2 separate regions of the Homo sapiens genome follow, and region 2 is linked to region 1. The links are contacts of gene promoters, found by promoter capture Hi-C in blood cells and fetal thymus (Javierre and others, 2016). All regions are on one chromosome and are shown on one strand. The core of a region is centred on a gene start or on the middle of the fragment in contact, and the rest is flanking DNA. Distances in the headings are between cores, read along the strand shown.

Region 1 (4,527 bases), core at 1,739-4,238:
CCCACTCTATAGAAAGTCAAGCAGACTTGACTAGATTAAGCCTATGGTCTCAGAACATTGTTGTTGGAAGGGGGATGAAAGTCATGTGTCCTTCTACCTCTCTTGCTCTGCTATACTTAAAGAAACTCCTAGTGATACAATCCCAACAATCAGTCATGAGTTCTCTGACCTTTCACAACACCATCTATGTTTCTTACATTGTTATCCAATTCTATATTTTTTGAATTGTTATCTACTCCATGTGGACACACATTCATTCTCCGCATAGATTAAAAGACTACATCTGATCTTGCTTCTGTGTTTTCATAGGGCTCAATAAATACTTTTAAAGTTGAATTGAATTTGCAATATTCACTATATAATTAAGAGAGAAAATTTGAGATCAAATTTACTCTAGATTTCAGATCAGTCATTTCATGGGAATCCAAACTTTCCATGTCCAGGAATTCATGAGATTCCTCCCCCAACCTCCTGCTCTTGTTGACAATGTAAAACAAACCACAGTTAGCCTGGGAATTATCTTTACGGAATATATCAGCATATTGTTTTGAGTTTTTGCACTGCATGTATTAATCAACCAAGAACACATGTCTTGGTTCAGTAAAAATTTGCAGAAAGCTAGGCATCCTATTAAAAGAATCTGTTGACGTTTATCCCCCCAGCTAGCTTTTCCTATTTTGTAACTACAAAGAATATTAGTGTTTCTTTACTTTTCAGAATCATCTACTCAGAAAGACTTCTAGCAGTGTCCTCGACAGGAAGTCACCACTGTGCTGAGGCAAGGCAGTGGGTCTTTAGGAGGTCAGGTTTCTTCCCACCCTTTGACTGCTCTGCCTGTAGATGTGTCAGCTCTTATCCCACTTCTGCTGAGAAGAGCATCCTTCAGCCGTGACACTAAACTTGTGTGAGGATGATGCAGAGAGGCTGGGCACAGGCCACATAGGCTCACCCTCTACCACTATCTTGGACATATTAGGTTCCTACATGATGGGGAGATCAGGAGGGCTAGGGGAGCCTAGTTATAGTTGCTTTATTGGAACTGTCTGGCATAGAAGAAGACATTCAGAGGGCAATAAAGATCAGACTTTTTCAGAGGCAAACAGGTGAACTTCCAGTGATTTATTCTTAGTTAACCAACCTTCAACCAACTGATAAGATAAACAGTATCCCTAATGCTGATCCTAAAGCATTCGAGATCCTGAAGTATCTTCAGCATTATCAAAAAGGATTAAATTGTATTGTGGTAAACAATGATATTTTAATTTTAAAAATTTATTATAATCCTCTAAACCCATGCTCTCCAAACTTTCTTATTTTATGCTTGAATCGGTTGTAAAAATTGTCATCCCCTAATATATTTATATTTATTTATTTATAAATTATACGTATTAATACCCTACTAAAATTTTCATGATAAAACATATACAAATATAAAATATTTTAAAGGGCAAGAATGTTTTCTTGATTTTAAAATTTAATAAGTAGAAATAAAGGAATACTGTTTTAATATTTAAAAAAAAGCTTTTTATCTGAGCTCATCATGCCTACTAACAAAGTATTTAGAAGCATTTATGCTGAAGTAAGGACAGGAAAAATGACACTGTCACTACTATTATTGAATATTGTTCTAGAGATACTAGCTCTAATTAGGAAAGACAAACAAATTAGAATATTTGAAAGTAATACATTAACAGAATATGGTAAGTATCATTTATGTTGGCAAATAAATTCACGTGTGAAAAACCTGAAAGAACGAACTACAAAACATTCTTCAACAATAAAAGAATAAATATATAGAAATCAGTAGCCATGACAAATACAGATGGCAGCCAGTTAGAAGGTGTACTGGAAGGTAATGCCTCATTTACCCTGAGTAAAACAAGATCAAATATCTAGGAATAAATATAAGAATCATGTCTGATAGGCAAGCAGAAATTGAAGGAACCCCAAAAGTTTGAACAAATAAAAAGACACACTATATTTTGATTAGGAAGACAGCATCCTAAAATTATCCAATATCCTTCAATTAATCTACAAATTTGATAAAATTCCAATACAAATACCAACAAGATTCTTTTTATGTTCTGAGGTTCAAATGGAAAATCAAACAAGTAAGAGTAGTTGTGAAAATACTGAAGAAGTCAAGCAATGAGGGGCAACAATACCTACCAGATAAGAAAAAATGCATAAAGCTATCATACTCAAAGAAATATGAATGAATAGACAAATCAGTGAAATAGAATATAAAGTCCATAAATACATCCTAATACACATAAAAATGTATATGATAAAAGAGGCATGTAAAATGAGTTATTCAATAAATGAGTCCCTGGAAGATAAGGAGGGTGGGAAACAGATAGGATAGGCTATGAATTATTAAGCAACTGGTTTATATCTAGTTTAACCAGCAAGATGCAGGAGCATCTTCAACTTAGTTTTCTCATAGCACCATGATGTCCACAAATCCACTTACAAGCAATAGTTCTGTCTTTCCCAATGTTACATTCCAAGCATTCACAACCGTATCTGGACACAGAAACTCTACCATGGTACCAAACAGTAATTACTCTGCAGAGGTAATAGGTGCACACACTATTTAGGTCTGAATACCACAGCAGGGAAAGGTATGCCAGCTAGGAAGGAAATAAAATCTCAGGAAAAACGAGGGCAAGTAGAAAAAAAAAAAGATAAGAGGAACTAAATAGCCTCGCTGGGCACATACTCATGGGAACCCTGCTGATGTTGCCCAACTTGAAGATAAAGAGATGCCTATGATATAGAATCATGAAGATCTCACCTCAGAGAGATCCGTGATATGTCACCCAGGAGCATCCGTCACCTGCCGGAGCACTGTACCAGGAAACCAGAGGCATGGTTCTGTGTAATCTCGAGCAAGCTAAGTGGCCATGATGAGAATGCTTCTTCCTACTGTGCCCAGCTACAGGATTTATGTAAGAATGACACGAAATGACAGATGTGAGTACACTTTGCAGCTCTGATCAGTGGTATCCTAATAAAGAAGAATTGTTAGCTTTGAGTTGAGCCTTGTTTGTAACAGGCACTCACTTCACTGTTGTTGCCTTTTATGTTCCGGAGTCCTGCATGATATGGACTCCAGGATAGCAAGAGTCCACATACCCCTCCCCAAGAGAAATTAAGCTGGGAGCCATGGAATTATCATCATCTCCTTGCCACCCTGTCCAACTGCAGGTCGTGGGAAGCTGAATTTACCCTGTGAGACTTCTGCTTCATTTACATTCATCTTGGCAGGCAGTGGTGGGTCGTGGGGAACCTGTTGAAAGCATGACAGCAATGAAGGCTTTCTTACATGCTGAACTCACATCAAAGCTCTTTTCTTCTGTGCTGACACATGTAACTCTTTACCAGTCTGATGATAACACATACAGAGACAGACCCTCGGATTCCTGCTGGGGAGAAAACAGAGCCAGAGATATGCTGTACTGAGCTGGCAAATACAGTGTTCTTTCTGTTAAAATCTGATGGGAAAGTAACTAGGCAAAAATCCATGGTGCTGGCTACGGTACAAAGATGACCAAGGCTGTCTCAGGTATCCTGGTGGCTTTATTGTCTATTTCCGGGAAAAGAGTAGGTAGGGATCAAGAGCAAAGAACATGGGAAAATGTGCTGCTTTGTCATTGCAGTTCATTTATTTCCTAGAAATTTTGGCTTCTAGGGAAAGGCAGCGTGATATAAAAAAGAAAAAGGTACTGGACTCAACCTGATTTAAATCCAGACCTGACACTTTGCTACCTGGATGAACTTGGGTAAGTGACCTAAGCTCTCTAAGCTTCAGTTTCCTCATCTGTAAAATGAGGATGAAATTTTCTATGCAAGATTTTGTAAGGAAGATCAAATAAATGGACATAAAGCAATTGACACATAAATATGGAAACGATTTCTCAGCTTTCCTCCCTGAGGGACAGAGACTCTTCAGGCTACTTAAATTCTCCCCAGACTTTTCCAAGTTGCTCTTTATCCTCATACCCTGGCCACACCACAAAAGCTGCCCACATAGAAGAACTTGGTGAAGACTTGCTGACTATTCCCCTAAATTCTGCTTGTTTAATAAACATCTGCAGAGACAGGCTCAGCAATGGGCTCATTGTGGAGAATCCCAGAAGTGTGTGGCAACACCAAAGGAATTTTATGAAAGTCCCAGGAGAGAGAAACTGTCGTTCAAGTCATCACATAGCAAACTGCCCCTAACACGTGCTGCACACACATTAGGTGGTGACTCAGTTTTGGTGTTTGACTTGAGTCTTAAAACATAGTTCAGAACCTGATGATACTTCCCTGAATTCCCATTTTTAGTGTGAAAGTGTGTTCGGCTTCCCGTTGGCTATTGGGAGCTTGAAAGAAATTCAAGGAAGGAGACCTACAAACTGCTTATAAAGGATACTGCGTGAGCTTTATGCACTTTGGCTCTTTTAATCCATTCCACAAGGCCGTGATGCCCATTTTACAGATGATGAAACTCTTTCTGAGGTTAAGTAGCTCACACGGTGC
Region 2 (4,766 bases), core at 1,200-3,699, 250 kb after region 1:
GGAAAAGTCTGATAACTTTAAAGAAGCTGTTTTATTTGTTGTTTAATAGAAAAAAGACTTGAAAGGGTGCAATGGAGCACAGGAACATCACCTCTGTTAGGACCGGCAGTAGCTAGGGAGGGAGCAAGTCAGCCTTGAGAGGGCTGCAGGGGAGACATTCTACTAGGGGAATAGAAGACACCAGGGTTTCAGTTAAAGTGAAAAATGAAGAGAAAGCACACACAGAGAAAAAGTGTTTTGGCAAATTGCTAATAACAGACCGTGGATTATAGAGAACACAAAAGACAGGTGTGGGAGGCCATGGAAGAGTTGAAGGTGGGGTTAGATTAGGTAGTGGTTCTCAGTCCTAGCCGCACAACAGAATCATCTGGGGAACTTTTGAAAGTACTGATGCCTGCACACAGATCAACTGAATTAGAATCTCTAGGGGGTAAGGCCAGGGTATGTACAGCCCAGTAACCAAACTTTCAAATACAGTCATCCCCCAGTATCCATGGGCGATCAGTTCCAGGATCCCTGTGGATACCAAAATCCACAATGCTCAAGTCCCTTACAGAAAATGGCCTGGTATTGGCATAGAAGCTACACATATCCTCCCATATGATTCAAATCATCTCTAGATTACTTATAACTAATACAACGTCAGCGCTATAAAACTAGTTGTTTAGGGAATAATGACAAGGAAAACAAGTCTGTATTGTACATGCTCAGTACAGATGCAACCATCCACTCTTTTCAATTTTCCACCCCAGGCTGGCCGAATCCATGGATGCAGAACCCACAAATACAGAGGACTACTTCCTTGTACACACTAACACAAGTAACAGATGAGAAGGGGGAAAATGGCATCAGTGTTTATCTCTGATGAGTACATCAAAATCTTAAGGGTGAATGTCTTTATACTTTCAGATTTTCTTGTGCATTTTTCAGATTGAATTAAAAAAGGGGGCTTTTGTTTGTTTGAGGGGGATTGCTTAAAGAAAGGGGTTTATAGTACAGTCTCAATTTCTACTGTTTACACATGGAATTTATTTGGTCTGTCTGACCCAATCTGTTTCTGGTAAAGGTGCATGAAATGAGCTTTGAAAAAATATCTAAAACTTAAAAATAAAGGAAAAGGCAGTAGATCATGTCCTTTCAAAGTCATACAGGGACATTGCTTAACATGCCTATCAAGAAGGCTTCTAGGCAAATTGCTGAAGAAATGTATATATTTCTTTATGCATTGAATCCTAGCAGATTGTGTGTGTATATATAGTGTGTGTGTATATATATATATACAAACACACAATGAACTATTATTCAGCCTTAAAAAAGGAGATCCTGCCGTTTGTGACAAGGAACCTAGAGGACGTTATGGTAAGTGAAATGAGTCAAACACAGAAAAATACTGCATGATCTCACTTATGTGTGGAATCTAAAAGTAACAGAAAGAAAGAGGAAAAAAAATCAAATACACAGTAACAGAGAGTAGAATGGTGGTTACCAGGAGCAGGGGAAATGGGAAGATGTAGGTCAAAGGGTAAGTCTAGAGATCTAACGCACAGCATGAGGACTACAGTTAATAATATTGTATTGTGTATTGGAAATCTGCTAAGACAGCTTTTAGATGCACTTAGTACAAAAAAAAAAAGGAGGGGGTAACCATGTGAGATGATGAATATGTTAATTTGCTTGACTATAGTATCATTTCACTATATAAAATGGCATATTACATACTTTTAATATATGTAATTTTTAAAAGTTAACATATAATGAGCTTATTTTTTAATGTTTTAACATTTTTGTTTTAATTTCTAATAAGATAAATATTGGCAGATCATTTGGAGGCCTCAATTTTTAAGAGCCAAAGGGGATCCTGAGACTCAAGTCTGAGACTCACTGATCTATATTTGTTTGGCGTTGCCATTTACTACTAAGGGCGCACATTACTCAGCATACTCATTTCAAAATGCCCTTCCTGGTGGACTACATAACTCCTATTTCTCCAATTCTGCTTTGAAACAGCCTTTTGCCATCTCCGGTTTCCTCATTAAGAAGTTGAATAAATTTTATTATGTATTCATTGTGTATTTGGACAACAGTCATGTATAATTTTAAGGATTATATTTTGATAGAAGGTACGATCTGCTGATTTATACAATTTAGTCCTGAGTTTCTTTTCTCTGTATTCAAAAGCTGATGAAAGAACAGGGAACATTATGAAGTCTCATAATCATTCTTAAACATTTCCCTAATGAAATGAAAGAAGACTGCAATCATCAGCTATGTCTAAAACTATTGTGTTCCTTCACAAAAGTATTTAAAAGGAAAGAACAAGTACAAAGTTTGTGAAGCAAAATGACATAGTTTTGAAAGAAGATCCAAGCTTGAGAATGGGTCTCTAATTTGAGAGATAACATTTACTTTAATATGGAAGAAGAGCACACTTTCAATCTATTGCCAAGATCTTTCCTTCCCAATACAAGCTCCACCTTCCTCCCAGGGAAACAACACAGTACAACAACATAATTTCAGCTCTGTCTGTGCAGAAAGCTTTCTTAGTCAGGAAGGTATAAAAACAGCAGGAGAAATCCATAATTCTGCTACTCATTAGGAAACACTTAACACTGATCTCAGGCTTCAGTATGCATTAGAATTATCTGAGAGACCTGGTAGAAATACAGATTTAAATTCACTATGCAGGGTGGGAGGGATAGCATTAGGAGATATACCTAACATAAAAGATGAGTTAATGGGTGCAGCACACCAGCATGGCACATGTATACATATGTAATGAACCTGCACGTTGTGCCCACGTACCCTAGAACTTAAAGTATAATAAAAAATAAATAAATTCACTATGCAATGTGGGGGCGGGTGGGGGGCGGCCACACAGCACTCCAGGTGACTCTAATCGAAAATAAAAAGCGAGCCAGGTGGAGTGGTGCATGTCCATAGCCCTAGCAACTTGGGAGGCTGAGGTGGGAGGACTGCTTGAGCCCAGGAGTTTGAGACCCCACCCCCATCCCTTAAAAAATAAAAAATAAAAATAAAAATTCATACTTTGGGAAACTATACTAAAGTATTAGAATTGGCCGCATAGCTGTTGTGTTTTTCTAAGAATCGTCCGTGTAACCTTAATATCTAAATGTCAAGCCCCTCTACCTGATCTGAAAGGCCCTTCACAATCTTGCCCAGGTCTTTAAACTTCAACTCCACTCCTACATCCGTCTCTGCCCTTCAGTAACTCCCTAGTACAGCCACGCTGAACCATTTCTGTATTCCTTCCTGATATCCACCCTTCTCTCTCTTTCCTCTTCTCTGGGTGGGACTATTTATTCTTCACAGCGGTGTGATAGGGTGGGTAAGTACATAGCTCTCTGGACTCTAAAGCCAGTAGACCTGGTTTCCAATCCCGGAGCACCCTCACTTTGGTAAATGTGGTTGACCTCTCTGAACCTGAGATGCCTCCTCTATAAAATCAGAGATAAGAATACCCACCCCAAGGCTATTGCATGAGCACTGGCAGCATTCAGTATAGATGCTAAACATGTTTATACCCCCCAACACACAGAAAACCTTCAGTCTTCCCAGGAAAAACTGCCCTGTCCTCTCTAAATAATATAAACATCCCTCTTGGAGATAAACACACATTATACAGGCCTGTAAACCCAATTCTGGTAGGACTTATAAGCAGATACTTAGGAAAATGCATTAGATCAAATCAGTATACTGAAGTTTTAAAAATAACACAGGCCAGGTGCAGTGGCTCACACCTGTAATCCCAGCACTTTGGGAGGCTGAGGTGGGTGGATTGCCTGAGGTCAGGAGTTTGAGATCAGCCTGACTAACAAGGTGAAATCCCATCTCTACTAAAAATACAATAACTAGCCAGGTGTGGTGGCAGGTGCCTATAATCCCAGCTACTCGTAAGGCTGAGGCAGGAGAATCGCTTGAACCTGGGAGGCAGAGGTTGTAGTGAGCCGAGATTGTGCCACTGCACTCTAGCCTAGGTGACAGAGCAAGACTCCATCTCAAAAAAAAAAAAAAAAAAGGAGAACCCAAATCCATAAGGTAGCCTACCCTCACCATCCCCCAAAGTTATTTTACCAGAGGGTTTTTAATGATCATATTCCTTCATAGTTTGATTATTTTGATGCCAAGGGCAGAAAAAGCAACCACTGATATTTAGGATCCCACAGTTGCCAAATAACCACTAAGCTTACCTACAGCAGGTGGCATATGCCTAAGTATGGAAGGCAGATTGAGGTGAAGTTGACTAATCCAGTCCATGTTAAAACATTCTGAGCATTTAGTATGCACAAAAATGTTTGATAATGTAAAAAAAAAGTGCACAAAGTATGGTTTCTTCTTTCCGAGGAGCTCAACCCATTTAGGGGAAAGTACTGACAAATGCTTTCTTCCATAGACAAAAATAACAATGACCACCATCCTCCAAAATTCACCTTGTTTATCCTCTTCAGGAAACAGAGGAAGTTAAAAATAAGTACGATTTAGAAGACAGGTGTTTGTTTACAAATATCAACGCCATAAAAAAGATTTAAAAGTCTGCCAGGATGTGGAAATTCTCATCACATCCTCCTAACATCTGTGAGGGGTAATATTATTCCTATTTTATAGATGAAGAAGCTGAGGCTCAACTGCTATATAAGCGTTAGCACAAATTCATGAAGCTTGCGTGGTGGAGCTAGAAACAAAGCTCAGTTTTAACCATAAGGTCATCTCCTTTGCTTAGAATTGAAATTTAAGCATTCTTCCAGATC

What was found. Contacts are between HindIII fragments. The CHiCAGO score rates a contact against its expected background, and 5 or more counts as called.
Region 2: a contact is called between a fragment that was not itself captured here and the fragment with the promoter of RMDN2-AS1 in region 1, in 1 of 17 cell types (M0 macrophages). The highest score is 5.2, in M0 macrophages.

Annotation. Positions count from the first base shown.
Region 1 is chr2:38,033,353-38,037,879 of GRCh38, forward strand. It overlaps RMDN2-AS1 (RMDN2 antisense RNA 1), which reads right to left and starts at 2,989. Exons shown (of 4, transcript NR_102712.1): 1 at 2,798-2,989. It also overlaps a transcript of RMDN2 not described here. The HindIII fragment of the contact is 2,287 bases long and covers 1,520-3,806 here.
Region 2 is chr2:38,287,178-38,291,943 of GRCh38, forward strand. No RefSeq gene overlaps it. Among named protein-coding and RNA genes, the nearest start is that of ATL2, 88 kb to the right of the region's middle. The HindIII fragment of the contact is 167 bases long and covers 2,367-2,533 here.